2 separate regions of the Homo sapiens genome follow, and region 1 is linked to region 2. The links are contacts of gene promoters, found by promoter capture Hi-C in blood cells and fetal thymus (Javierre and others, 2016). All regions are on one chromosome and are shown on one strand. The core of a region is centred on a gene start or on the middle of the fragment in contact, and the rest is flanking DNA. Distances in the headings are between cores, read along the strand shown.

Evidence for each region. Contacts are between HindIII fragments. The CHiCAGO score rates a contact against its expected background, and 5 or more counts as called.
Region 1: a contact is called between a fragment that was not itself captured here and the fragment with the promoter of TBCEL in region 2, in 1 of 17 cell types (megakaryocytes). The highest score is 5.8, in megakaryocytes.

What each region holds. Positions count from the first base shown.
Region 1 is chr11:121,192,044-121,198,881 of GRCh38, forward strand. No RefSeq gene overlaps it. Among named protein-coding and RNA genes, the nearest start is that of TECTA, 94 kb to the left of the region's middle. The HindIII fragment of the contact is 976 bases long and covers 1,156-2,131 here.
Region 2 is chr11:121,019,931-121,027,007 of GRCh38, forward strand. TBCEL (tubulin folding cofactor E like) reads left to right here and starts at 4,172. Exons shown (of 9, transcript NM_001363644.2): 1 at 4,172-4,361. TBCEL-TECTA (TBCEL-TECTA readthrough) reads left to right here and starts at 4,172. Exons shown (of 30, transcript NM_001378761.1): 1 at 4,172-4,361. RefSeq lists silencers at 3,986-4,135, 4,156-4,425. The HindIII fragment of the contact is 3,156 bases long and covers 2,594-5,749 here.

The sequences.
Region 1 (6,838 bases), core at 394-2,893, 170 kb after region 2:
CCTGGGAGAGTCAACACATTCGAGCTTATCTCAGCAGTCACACATGCTGTGCAGCTGAGCGGACAACTGGTATTGATGGAGAAAAATATGTGTCTGCTTCTGCTTGGACATCTTAAGATCTTTTGGGGAAATGCTGAGCACTGAGATGGATTAAGGAGTCAAGCCATTGTCTATTCTAGCTGAGACACAGTACTTCGTCCTCAGCAAGATAGAAATGGATGTTAGGTGTGTGATCTTTTTTTTTTTGAGACGGAGTCTGGCTCTATCGCCCAGGCTGGAGTGCAGTGGCACGATCTTGGCTCACTGCAAGCTCTGCCTCCCAGATTCACGCCATTCTCCTGCCTCAGCCTCCCAGAATAGCTGGGACTACAGGCACCCGCCACCATGCCCCGCTAATGTTTTGTATTTTTTTAGTAGAGACGGGGTTTCACCATGTTAGCCAGGATGGTCTCAATCTCCTGACTTCGCAATCTGCCTGCCTCGGCCTCCCAAAGTGCTGGGATTACAGGCATGAGCCACTGCGCCTGCTCTAAGTGTGTGTTCTTTGTTTGCATGAAAACCTGGATTCCATACTATCCCATACTTCAAGATCAGAGGATTCAGATGAGCTTATGCACCATTTCCATTCATGCCATTAAAGGTTTAGGCTTTTGAAATCAAACAGATTATGAGCTAAATATAATAATGTGTCATTTATGGTTTTACCTGAGATCCTTAGATGATTTTTTTTTTTCCCCTGAGACAGGGTCTCACTCCTGTTGCCAAGGCTGGAGTCTATTAGCATGATCTTGGCTCATTGCAGCCTCGACTTTCTGTGCTCAAGTGATCCTACTACTTCAACCTTCTTAGTAGCTGGGACTACAGGCATGCACCACCATGCCCAGCTAATTTTTTATATTTTTAGTAGAGATGAGGTTTTACCATGTTGCCCAGGCTGGTCTCGAACTCCCGGGCTCAGGCAACCCACTCACCTTGGCCTCCTAAAGTGCTGGGATTATGGGCGTGAGCCAACACACCTGCCTTTTTAGATGAATTTTAACTGAAAACATACAAGGAGGAAATGGTGTATTACTTACTTGACAACACCTCTTTATTGATTCCCATATTAAAGTCATTAGAAATTCCTCGATTAAAAATTCTAGTTTTTTTTCTTAAAGCTTTTTACTTGAAATCCTTTTTGCCACACTTTCATTCTTGGCTTTTGGTTTTCTCACTTGGTTGGCATCCTTCACATGTCTACCATCAAGATAAACCTGGTTGTAATGCCACAACAGAAAACCCCAGGCCAGGTGTGGTGGCTTATACCTATAATTCCGGCACTTTGGGAGACCCAGGCAGACAGATCACCTGAGCCCAGGATATTGAGACTAGCCTGAGCAACATAGTGAGAGCCCATCTCCACAAAAAAAATACAAAAATTAGCCAGGGGTGGTGGCGCATGCCTGTAGTCTCAGCTACTTGGGAGGCTCAGTTGGGAGGATCGCTTGAGCCTGGGCGGTTGAGGCTGCAGTGAGCCATGATCATGGCACTGCAATCCAGCCTGGACAACAGAATGAGATTTTTGTCTCAAAAAAGGAGAACACCCCCACAATCTCAGTGACTTAACAAAGGTTTCTTTCTTACTCACACAAGTCGCCCCTGCTTTCATTGTCATCCTGGAATGGAAGTTGCTGGAGGCTTTATTATCCTTCAATGTTGTCAGCTCAATGTGTGGCTTCAAGATTCACCTTTGCAAGGGAAGACAGCCTGGAGAATCCCACCGTAGCTCTTCCGTGCTTCTGCCTGAAGTGACACATATCGCTTCTGTTCCCACTTCATTGGTCAATGACAGCCAGATGGCTGTAACTGACTTTTAGAGATGAGGAAGCACAAACATCCCGTGTGCCTGGAAGGCAGAAGAACTGGAAATCAGTGGTGATGGTGCTCACATTGCCTTTGAGTCCGTCACTTCTATCTGGATTAAAGAGAAATACTTCTACAGAACTGAAAACAAACGGGCCCTTTAGTTGACTTCCTGGAAGGCAGAAGAACTGAGAGATGATCCTGACTCTTCCACTAATTCTCTACTTGAAACACAAATTATTACATGCCTCAATACCTTAATTTTCCTCTAGGTAACATAAGAACATGAAGCTTCTTTTCATATGTTCTTATGTCACAAAGTGGCACTAGACACTTGAACTGGGGAACCCCACCCACTCTCCTACCCCCTCGAACCCAATCCCTTCTCTTTTTACAAAGAGAAGCCATATGATAGTATATGTTAAGATAACTTCAGAGCATTGCCTTTTCCTGCTGCTCTAAAAGATTTACTTGCGGGGTGAAGGGGTGAGAAAGTGCATGCTTAGCAAAGGTTGAAAACGAAGTTAATTGGGAATCTTATTGACTTGGTATTTGTTTGATATCAAAAGAAACATCTTGGGGTCTGACATTTGTGACCACTGGGAATTCTGTAATTAGTTTCTCAACCAGTAGTAGGTATGTATTCTACTCAAAATTCTAACGACAAAACTTGAGAGCGCTAATTGTTTAACATTGTCTAATATTCTAGCTATTTTTAGAACCATTTGACATTTAGTGGGAGCTTGAAATCTAATAAAATTTCTTTCAACCAGAGGAATTAAGTAATTATCAAAAGACAATCATGAAGGGCTAGGGTAATAAAAAATTACTTCTTTACTAATTCTGAATTAATTTACCATCCACCCTGTTTTGAACTTCCCAGCCTTTCTCCTAAAACTCAGGGGATCTCTACAGCTTGTACTTCATTGCAATTTGGGCCTGTTTAGAAGACCATGATGATATTTTGCAGTGCCCCATACGCTGACATCTGCAGCACAGTCCAGTGAAAAAGGAAATGAAACAGCGCCCTCTAGTGTCTGCTGTTTATTTTTGCATGAAGCTCAAATGTGTATTGAACCACACCAATCGAATTATGATTCCGGTCCCCCGCCCCACTACCACCCTGAAACCTTAGACGCAGGACATTATGAGAATATAGCTTTAGAAAACACATCAAATGCCAAGGACGTTTTCTGGAGAACAGTATGGGATTTATTTTTATGCATACCGTACGCATTACTCCAGGAAATACCAGCACTTGGCATCCCATGCAAATTTTGCCCTTAATATCCGTTTCTCTAATGTGTTGACAAAAATAGCTGTCAAGAAAAATTAAGTACCTCTTTAAGATGTTGAGAAATAAACAATCTGATCAAGAAAAACCCATGCAATATTTAGTGGTCTTTTCCCCCCAGCAGAATGTGAAATACTTTCACATGCACCTACAGCACAACGGCAATAACTCTGTTCTGACTAATGGAAGGCTCTGTTTGTGATGGTTTAATTATGTTTGCTGAAATACGACTCTCATATAAGACAACATCTCCATGGCAGAGGGACAGATCTCTGTGTCTATAGATAGAAATAAAATACAAAAGACTCATCATTCCATGAAGAACTCAGCAATCAAATTCTATTTGCTAAGGAAACAAATGGAGGAAGAATGTTCACTGTACATTTCGTTGTGTGTTTCTGTTTGCATCTAGCCTCTAGGTTAGCTGTTGTTTTGTTCAGTAGCATAAGATACTGATGGTGAAATAATTTTGAAATTAAGATAGTCTCCTATTGGACGAAATAACAATCCCTTACACAAATGTAGCATCTTTCATAACAAATGCTTTGCCACTGTATTTAATATTGTTCAGTCCTAGATCATGCTGCATTCTGACAGAGAAATTAGAGGAAAAGTACTAAGTTGAAGTTATATATATCCAAAAGTACTAACTAAAGAAGAACATAAACCTACTCATATATGTATGCTTTTATGTGTAGGTTTATTTAATAATTTTTAACTTCTAATGAGACATATTAGAATGATAGTGACCTTTTGAGCCTTTTAAGAACAAACAAACTTAGAATTCTTTATTTTCTCCCCCTAACTTTTGAATTCCTTTGTGGAATACTTTAGGGTACAAAAATCCACCGATATTGCCCTATTTTAATTGGGCAAAAATACATTATTTTACTGAAAAAGATAACATTTAATTACTTTAAGGCTTGAAAACCTTTGCGTTGGATCAACCTAGTATTAGTGGAATTATTTAAATTTCAAGACTGTAGGCACATAGAAATTTGTTACTGAGTTAATTATATGTTAACCAAAGGCAGAAAAAACAAGGTTCCTAGTATTTCCCTTTTATCTGCCAAAAACATTCTTAATTTAACAGGCCATCCTGGTCCTTAAATGTGGTTTATATAACTAGGTGGGTCATTCAAATCAAGAAGTTACAAGTGTGTATTTATTCACACTTTCCATGAGTCTCTACGTTGATGACTGCAAAATGCTGTTAAGGAATATCTGCAGCCGTGCAGGGGACGGAGTCTGCTCTCCTGAAAAGTCACGATCAGAAAGCAATTTGGCAAACTAATTCGACAAGGGGAAAATGACTTAACATATAATGCAGAAGCATCTAGGTGTCATATCAGAATATTCAAAGCATAAAATGAGAAAAAGGGCTGTGGATAGCACATAACCCAATTTTTTCCCCCTAAAAAAGCCCCATATTTGAAATGCTTACTTTGAATCTCCAAGAGAGAAGAAGAGTGGAAGTATTCTGAATATTAATTTAAGATTAGCAGGAATGTAGTGAGTCTAGAGATACTTGGCCACTATGGATTTTATTCATGTCTCCTGTTGTTAGCCTGTTCTATTTGTATTCTCAACCTGGTCATGTTGATACAAAATTACTTTCATTAGTTAATTTTAAGTAGAACCCCAAAACTAAGTTGACATTTGTATCTTGTTTAGACAAATTTCCCTGAAAACACAGGCTGCCTAAATCACAGGAAAACATGTCTCCATCATACAAAGTTAAATGCTTCTTATTTTGAAGAATAGTTTCAGACAGTCACAACCCACAAGGACTTTGTTGTATTTCTAGGCATTATACTCCAGAAACACAAATTCGGCAAAAGTCAACTTTCCAGGTAGATCCCCAAAGAGGCACCCCTAACTCTTGCAAACCAAGAGACCTCACGGCAACAACTATTTCTCTGTCCTCTGCCTTAGGGTTTTGCATACTTTGTTAGGAAGATACAACTGTAGAACTTTAATGTGTGGTGATTTGATAAATTTTACAATAAAATTTGTAAAATGTATGGTTGTATTTCTAAGTCTTCTACCAGAAAGTATCATTCTGAGGTGCTCTCATGTTATAGAAACAGCAACATAAACAACAACAAAACTCCTCATCTTTGGGTCTGCTGTTAGAAGTGGGTTCTTTCAATGCCACCGCTAAAACATGCACTTGAGTCACTGATCACTGGCAAAGTCTGCTCTTATTGTTTTATTTGTAAAACAATTCCCACATTACTTATCCCAACCCTATTGTAAGTTGATTTTTTTTTTTTTTTTTTTTTTTTTTAAGACGGAGTCTCGCTCTGTCGCCCAGGCTGGAGTGTGGTGGCGCGATCTCGGCTCACTGCAAGCTCTGCCTCCCGGGTTCATGCCATTCTCCCGCCTCAGCCTCCCGAGTAACTGGGACTACAGGCGCCCACCACCACGCCCGGCTAATTTTTTTGTATTTTTAGTAGAGACGGGGTTTCACCATGTTAGCCAAGATGGTCTCGATCTCCTGACCTCGTGATCCACCCGCCTCGGCCTCCCAAGGTGCTAGGATTACAGGCGTGAGCCACAGCACCTGGCCGAGTTTTTCCTTCTCACCAGAAGAATGTAAATGTACATGGGTTGGAAAAATGAGAGTGGCAGAACCTTTTAGTTTTGTGAAGGTAGCACAAGGATATTTTGTTCCTATATGTTGCAAAGTGCAGCTGAGGATGATGGAAGGAGTGCAGAGGGCCAGGGCTGTGGGTGGCCCCTGCATTGGCCTCAACTTCTCATGGAACCCTGAGTTAGCCAGGTGGGCCAGATGCCCTTGAAGGTACAGTCAGTCTCCTTCCAAAAATGTAAAAAAAAAAAAAAAAAAAGGAAATTCACTTTACTAAAACCCCTAAGCAGATTTTTATCAAAGATAGAGAAAATGATCTTAATTCTGAGATATTTGGAAAATACTATCAGAAAGAAAACAATGAATCTCTCAGATTTAATTCAGTGAGTAAAAATCTACTGGAATCAAGAACTAAGAAATAAAATATAAACACAGGATTGCCCTGAGGAAAAAAGTTTGAATTTAACAAAGTAATTCCTTGTAGACACTAAACCAATGTAAAGCAAGCAACCAAGGGCTTTGATGCCACTGCCTTTAAATAAACACATGATTTCATAAATGGAAAAAAAGCTAAACTGATTACCTTGAAAAATGAGTAAATAAATATTAGAGCAAATCCATAGATGTATTAGCTCGTTCTTGCACTGCTGTAAAGAACTACCTGAGACTGGGTAATTTATAAAGAGAAGGTGTCTAATTGGCTCACAGTTTAGCAGGCTGTACAGGAAGTATGGTTGGGAGGCCGCAGGAAACTTACAATTGTGGCAGAAGGCAAAGCAGGCATTTCTTCACATGGCCAGAGCAAGAGGAAGAGAGAGAGCGGGAGGTGCTACTCACTTTTAAACAACTAGATCTCATGAGAACTTACTATCATGAGAACAGCAAGGGGGAAATCTGCCCCTATGATCCAATCCCCTCCCACCAGGTCCCTCCTCCAACACTGGGGATTACAATTCCACATGAGATTTGGGCGGGGACACAGACCCAAACCACATCAATAGGATACTAAGAAACACCAGTAATTTCCCCCGAGGATGCTGCGAAACAAGTTCCTTGGCCATTCCTTTAGCTATAAAGTCCCAGTTATTAAGGACATTAAGGTTCCATTT
Region 2 (7,077 bases), core at 2,922-5,421:
GAGACTTGAGAAGCAGGGATCACTTTAGCCCAGGAGTTTGAGACTGCAGTGAGCTATGATTGTGCCAGTGCACTCCAGCCTGGGCGACAGAGAGAGCCCCTGTCTAAAATGATAATTAATAATAATAATATCTAATAAAATGGCCACAAATCTGCCTGTTATTTTCTCTCAGTTTAGTTCAACGTCCATTCTCTCCTTTTCCTATATGATAGCCCTTTAGAAATAATGCGGAATCAATAGTGAACATGATAGACCTACTCCTGCCTTCATTGAGGCTTACATGCTCGCCAAAGAAACAACAAGGAAATAAGCTATTATGTATAATTTTCTGTCTCAAGGAAGTGAAAGAAGAACATTTGAAGTAAATGGCTTTGTGGAGGGAATTCCTATAGAATATATCATACAGGAAGGTTTGTGAGTATAGAGCAGTGCAGTTCAATAGAACTTTCTGTGATGATGAAAATATTCTGTATCTGCCCGGTCCAATATGATAGCCACTAGCCACATATGGTGATTGAGCACTTGAAATGTAACTAGTGTCAAGTGACTGAGGAAATGAAACTCGAATTTAACTTAATTTTAATTAATTTCAATTTAAATAGCCACATGTGGCTAGTGGCGACCAGATTGAACAGAGCAGATACAGAAGAGCAAATAGCAGTGATAAATGAGGCTGGAAAAGTCAGCAGGGTCCAGATCTGGAAAAATTTTGAGAAGTACATTAATAATAATAGACGTTATCTTGAGACCCACAGAGAATCCTGAAAGGGTTTTAAGTTCCAGAGAATAACACAATCACATATGTGTTTTTGTTTGTTTGTTTGTTTGTTTTTTTGATACAGAGTCTCGCTCTGTCACCCAGGCTGGAGTGCAGTGGCACAACCTCGGCTCACTGCAACCTCCGCCTCCTGGGTTCAAGCGATTCTCCTGCCTCAGCCTCCCGAGTAGCTGGGATTACAGGCTTGCACCACCACACCCAGCTAATTTTTGCATTTTTAGTAGAGACGGGCTTTCACCATATTGTCCAGGCTGGTCTCAAACTCCTGACCTCTTGATCCATCTGCCTTAGCCTCCCAAAGTGCTGAGATTACAGATGTAAGTTTTAGAAAGATAATTCTGGCTGTCTTGGGGAGAAAGATGGGAGGTGGGTAGAGACATTGATCTTGTCTTTAGAAGTTTCATCTATAAGGGGAAAGATGGGAAAAGAAGCAGAAAAATGACTGGAGGATATCTCAGAGATACAAAGAAGTGTATAATCGACCACACCCAGCCACATACAATACTCATATATGTATTTATATACGTTGCACATAGTATTTGTTAACAGTAATGACCCATATTTCTTGCTTTTTTCCTAGTTGCTCACAGGGCAACTAGCCTCTTAAGCGTTTCTGGGTGTCCCCAAAGGTACCTGAGCTCAGAAGTAAGTCTGTCAACAGAGTATCCATGCAGCATCCACCTTGTACATTTTACTCCGCTCTTCTCATGGTCCTCACCACTGAGGCTACTTTTGACTGTGGCCATGCTGAGAGGTGACAGCGTGCTGGCAGTGGTGACAGCGTGCTGGCAGTCCTCACAGCCCTCGCTCGCTCTTGGCGCCTCCTCTGCCTGGGCTCCCACTTTGGCGGCACTTGAGGAGCCCTTCAGCCCACCGCTGCACTGTGGGAGCCCCTTTCTGGGCTGGCCAAGGCCGGAGCCGGCTCCCTCAGCTTGCAGGGAGGTGTGGAGGGAGAGGCGCGAGCTGGAACTGGGGCTGCACGCGGCGCTTGCGGGCCAGCTGGAGTTCCGGGTGGGCGTGGGCTTGGCGGGCCGCGCACTCGGAGCAGCCGGCCGACCCTGCCGGCCCCTGGCAATGAGGGGCTTAGCACCCGGGCCAGCGGCTGCAGAGGGTGTACTGGGTCCCCCGGCAGTGCCAGCCCACCGGCGCTGCGCTCGAGTTCTCACCGGGCCTTAGCTGCCTTCCCGCGGGGCAGGGCTCGGGACCTGCAGCCCGCCGTGCCTGAGCCTCCCACCCCCTCCATGGGCTCCCGTGCGACCCGAGCCTCCCCGATGAGCGCCGCCCCCTGCTCCACGGCGCCCAGTCACTTCCACCACCCAAGGGCTGAGGAGTGCGGGCGCACGGCGCGGGACTGGCAGGCAGCTCCACCTGCAGCCCCGGTGCGGGATCCACTGGGTGAAGCCAGTTGGGCTCTTGAGTCTGGTAGGGACGTGTACAACTTTTATGTCTAGCTCAGGGATTGTAAATACACCAATCGGCACTCTGTATCTAGCTCAAGGTTTGCAAACACACCAATCAGCACCCTGTGTCTAGCTCAGGATTTGTGAATGCACCAATGGACACTCTGTATCTAGCTACTCTGGTGGGGACTTGGAGAACCTTTGTGTGGACACTCTGTATCTAGCTAATCTGGTGGGGAGGTGGAGAACCTTTTGTCTAGCTCAGGGATTGTAAATGCACCAATCAGCGCCCTGTCAAAACAGACCACTCGGCTCTACCAATCAGCAGGATGCGGGTGGGGCCAGATAAGAGAATAAAAGCAGGCTGCCCGAGCCAGCAGTGGCAACCCGCTCGGGTCCCTTTCCACACTGTGGAAGCTTTGTTCTTTTGCTCTTTTCAATAAATCTTAGTACTGCTCACTCTTTGGGTCCACACTGCTTTTATGAGCTGTAACACTCACCGCGAAGGTCTGCAGCTTCACTCCGGAGCCAGCGAGACCACTAACCCACCAGAAGGAAGAAACTCCGGACGCATCCGAACATCAGAAGGAAGAAACTCCAGACGCGCCACCTTAAGAGCTGTAGCATTCACCGCGAGGGTCCGCGGCTTCATTCTTGAAGTCAGTGAGACCAAGAACCCACCAATTCCGGACACAATGCTAATGATCTCAGTGCTCTGAAAGCCAGTAATTCTTAAATTGCCAAGAAAGGCACTCTGTTCTCTGTGGAAGGGGGAGTAAAGCCCCTTCCTGAGCAACCTAAGATACAATTCTTGGCTAATCATCCCCTTTATACTCAGAGCAGTTTCTTTACCCATGACCTTCTGGCTTTTTTTTTTCCTCTCTACCCTGTCTAACCCTACCTATGGGATATGAGAAAACAAAACAGAATGACAAAAATAAGTCTCCAGGAACTGATGATGGTAAGGTGCTATTGGGTCTGTCCTAAATAATTTTGTTTCCCCCTTCTAGAAACCAATGCAGACATGCACATGCACATTACATCCCCCACGTCTTTTCTGGCACACACCACACAGAAGCACATACACTTTATGCACAAAGACATCTTCATCTCCTAGCACTTCAGGGGACATTCCCATACAAGGCTGAATTCACTTGGGGTTGAGCCAGCACCACGCCTATTCCATGTATGTTTCTGCAAAAGAAATGGACGAAGGAGTACATAAGCAATCACAGCTCAACAGTCAGATATAGTAATACTATGCATGGAGTTGGAGCAATAGCGTGGCATAAAGTGAAGTGCATGGACCCTGGTGCCAGCCTGACCTGGATTCAAATCTCACCCTGGTCACATTTACTAACTGGGTGGTCTTGGGCAGATCACTTAAGCACTCTGAACTTGTTTTCAATTCTATAAATACCATCTCTTTGGAGGGCTGTAAAAATTAAAAATAGCACATGCGCAGTGCCTGTACCTAGAAAGTGCTCAATAAATGAAAGCTGCTGTTACTACATTGGTGTTGGAAGCTCGGGATGCCACTTGTGAAGGGGGCACAGAAGAAAGGTCAGACTGCCACCATACCCTGAGGGCTCATCTAGTATAGTTCCCTCATTTTATGGTTGAGGACACTGAAGCCAGAGATAGGAAGAGACTTGGTCAAGGTCACACAGCAAATCAGTAACAGAGCCAGGCCAAGATTCCAAGTGTTTCTGGAAAGGTTCAGCCCAATGCTCTTTTCTGCAGCCCCTATTGTCCTCTGATATGACAATGTGTACTCCTGTTCTGCCCCTGGGGATTGTCCACTCAATGGGTGGGCACGAGAAAGAGCAGATGAGGTGTTTGTGGTAAAGCCTAAGCCAGTGCAGCCATCCCCGTCGCCATGGCAACCCCAGCGCGGTTGGGGAGGACCCGCTCCTCCGGCGCCCCCTCCCATTCACGCAGCGGACGTGACACGTGCGGCGGGGTCACGTGTTGTTGTTGGGCCGGGAAAGCTGCTTCCGGGTCAATGCAGGACACTGGGCTCCGGCGGCCAGAGTGGGGGACTAGGTGAAGCGGCGCCGGGCCGGGGCTGGCCGGGACCAGGCCCGAGGCTGAGCGGCGGCGACAGCGGTGGCCGGGAGGGGGGAGGAGAGGCGCAGCCAGAGGAGCCGCCGCAGTAGCTCCCCCGCCTCCCGGGCTGAGGGGTGAGTGGAGCCGGGCCCGCTGGCTCTGCCGGGCTCTCGAGGCCCGAGGCGTTCCCCTCTGGAGCCGAGGCGCGGAGGGTCGCTCCTGCAGGGTGCTGGGATAGGACACTCGGGGAAGGGTGAAAGCCACATGGGGCCTGTCTCGAGCAGCTGTGGGGATGGGAGACCTGCCCTGGGGCTAGAGGGAGGATGGGGCCTGCCTGGCCTGGGCTATGGCGGAGCTGGGAGGGTCTTGGGCTGGGCTGGGCTGGGCTGGGCTGGGGGACTGGTCCCGGGTTGGAGGAGGGCGTGTTGGGGAGCCTGCCCGGGTTCCTGGGAGAATCTAGGCGTCTCACCTTGCCCCAGCGTGGGGGATGGGTAGATGCCTCCCAGCTGTTAGAAGAGGGAGACGTGTCTGGGACTGCTGGGGAAATAGGAAACTTGTCTCTGAACTACTGAATCCCAGAAAAGAGGACATGTCCCCAGGGAGGTTTGCTGGGGGAAGGACGGGCATGTCTAGGCCCTTGGGACATTAGGCCTGCTCTTACCAGGGGCTGATAAAAGGATGTGGATGTGGTAATTGAATAAGGGCTTTTGGGAGAAAAGATTTGCCCCAAGGTTGGGAGACTGAGAACGAGGGTGTTGGACTGACAGGCGGGTGCCTTGTCGTGGGATCTTGGGGGAAGTAAGGATCTGTGTGGAGCTTCTCTGTTGAGTTCTAGGTCCGCTAGTAGGAAGACATTCTGGGAATTGGTGAAGAGAGGAGATTTAATAGTCTTTTCTTGGGACACAGTGATTCCAGAAGTTGTAGTTGAGGAAAGTTGGTTGGAAGTGTTGAACTGTATACAGTCAGTGGAGAAAGGAGGAGCTCTACTGTGAAGGTTGCTAGGCTACAAAGAGCTTGTAGGCAACGCCTAGGGCTGTTGAGAGAAGTTGGTAATGCTTTCAAGTCCAAATACAGGCTGAGCTGGGGCTTGTCCCTTGTTCATGTCATGCTGCTGTGGAGCTCTTACGTTTCCAGTAGTCTATCTTGAGCAAAGAGTATGAATAGGTGCTGAGGACTAAGGAAAACATTCACTCTTTGGGTCCTGAGATGCATTAGACCCAGATCTCTAGGGTGGTAGCTTTCAAACTTAAAAAAAAAAAAATTATGCCCCACAGTAATAAGTATGTCTTACATTCAGATCTAGTACATACGTAGGTATGAAGGGAAACTTTCACAAAGCAGTATTTACCCTTATTATATGTGATATGTTCTGCTAATTTCTATTATATTCCACCCTCTTGCATTAAAAAAAATGCTGGCTGACATTTACTAAATTGATGATTTGTGGGTCACAACTTGCAGTTTGAAAAACACTGTTTCTGAAGCACATTTATTTGGTGTCAATCAGTGTCCTCATTCTGTAAGCTTCTAAAGAGCAGGGATGATTCTAAGGAGATGGATTTTTTTTTTTTTTATTTTATTTTGGCCGGGGGAGAGGGAGGAGGGCAGCTAGGTGCAATTGATTGCTTCGGTTTAGATGTTTATACCACGTAGCATATTTGACCTGTGTTTTCTGAAGGACCATAATCTTGATCTTTAATATCTTGATGTTGCCTGATCATTTGATTGATGAAATTTTTTGTATGCGTGTGTGTTTTAGTTTCCTTTATCCTTTGCTGTGTCTGAGAAATATGAGAGGCCTAGTTCCACTTAGTTGCTTTATCACAACATAGTTAAAGAAATTTTATTTTACTGTTCCAATGTTGTGAAGATACACTGATTTTCTTTTCTGCTATTTAAAAACATCCCAAATTCTTCTTACTGCAGTAATTATTATGATATACTTTTTGCTACATGATGAAAAATATATGAAAAATACACGATAAAATATATACCAAAGCCATAGACATATTTAAAAGCCTTACAGTCTACGGCTTTGGTATATAAACTTAATCATAAACCTAAGTATAACTTTCAATCAGTTAACATCTTAATTCCCCTTACAAAAATTTTAGGTGGGGTCCTTAGAAAAATAGTATTAATTCATAATAAACATTAATGACTGTTGGTGAACAAAGTGAGAGTCCTTCATGTAATGTTAAATGTTGTAATGTTAAAGTCCTTTGAAAAGTTGTTACATAGCCTATTGCTGCAGGACATTGAGTGTCAAAGGATGTTGTCTAATTTCAGTAGGTACACAGGGTATGTATTTAAGACCAGTTTAATAGCGTTTCTTTTTTTGAGGATGAGTTCGTATTATTTGTAACATAGAATTCAAAGACACGGTCATCAGGACAGAAGTACCCAAGTTAAAACTTCATCAGTGGGGCCACATTCTTGATCAAATGCTTTACGAAAACATTCTATCATCTTTGAACTTTGTGTGTTATAAATCTTTCTTGCCTTTAATTATTTATTAGGTACTGATAGAGGCGTTATGCTGGCATATATCAGCCATCCTTTAAAAATGACCTCTTAATCAGGGAAATATTTGTTTTAAAATATTTAGCTTTAATGAATGTTTAAAGAAGATTTTGTTTTGTAGGTGCCTGGAACATTAAGGAAGATTCTTATTTATTTCATTTTTCTGGGAATCATATGTACTTGTCAATAAACAGTTACGGAGAAGTGACCCTGAGTGATTGTGTGTGCTTTTTAATAGTTTTTGTTTCTTCTCTGATCCTTAGACTCTTAAGCCTGTCCACCTGTAGCAGGCTCTTTTCTCCTTCTAATTTTTGCCTCCAAACTACT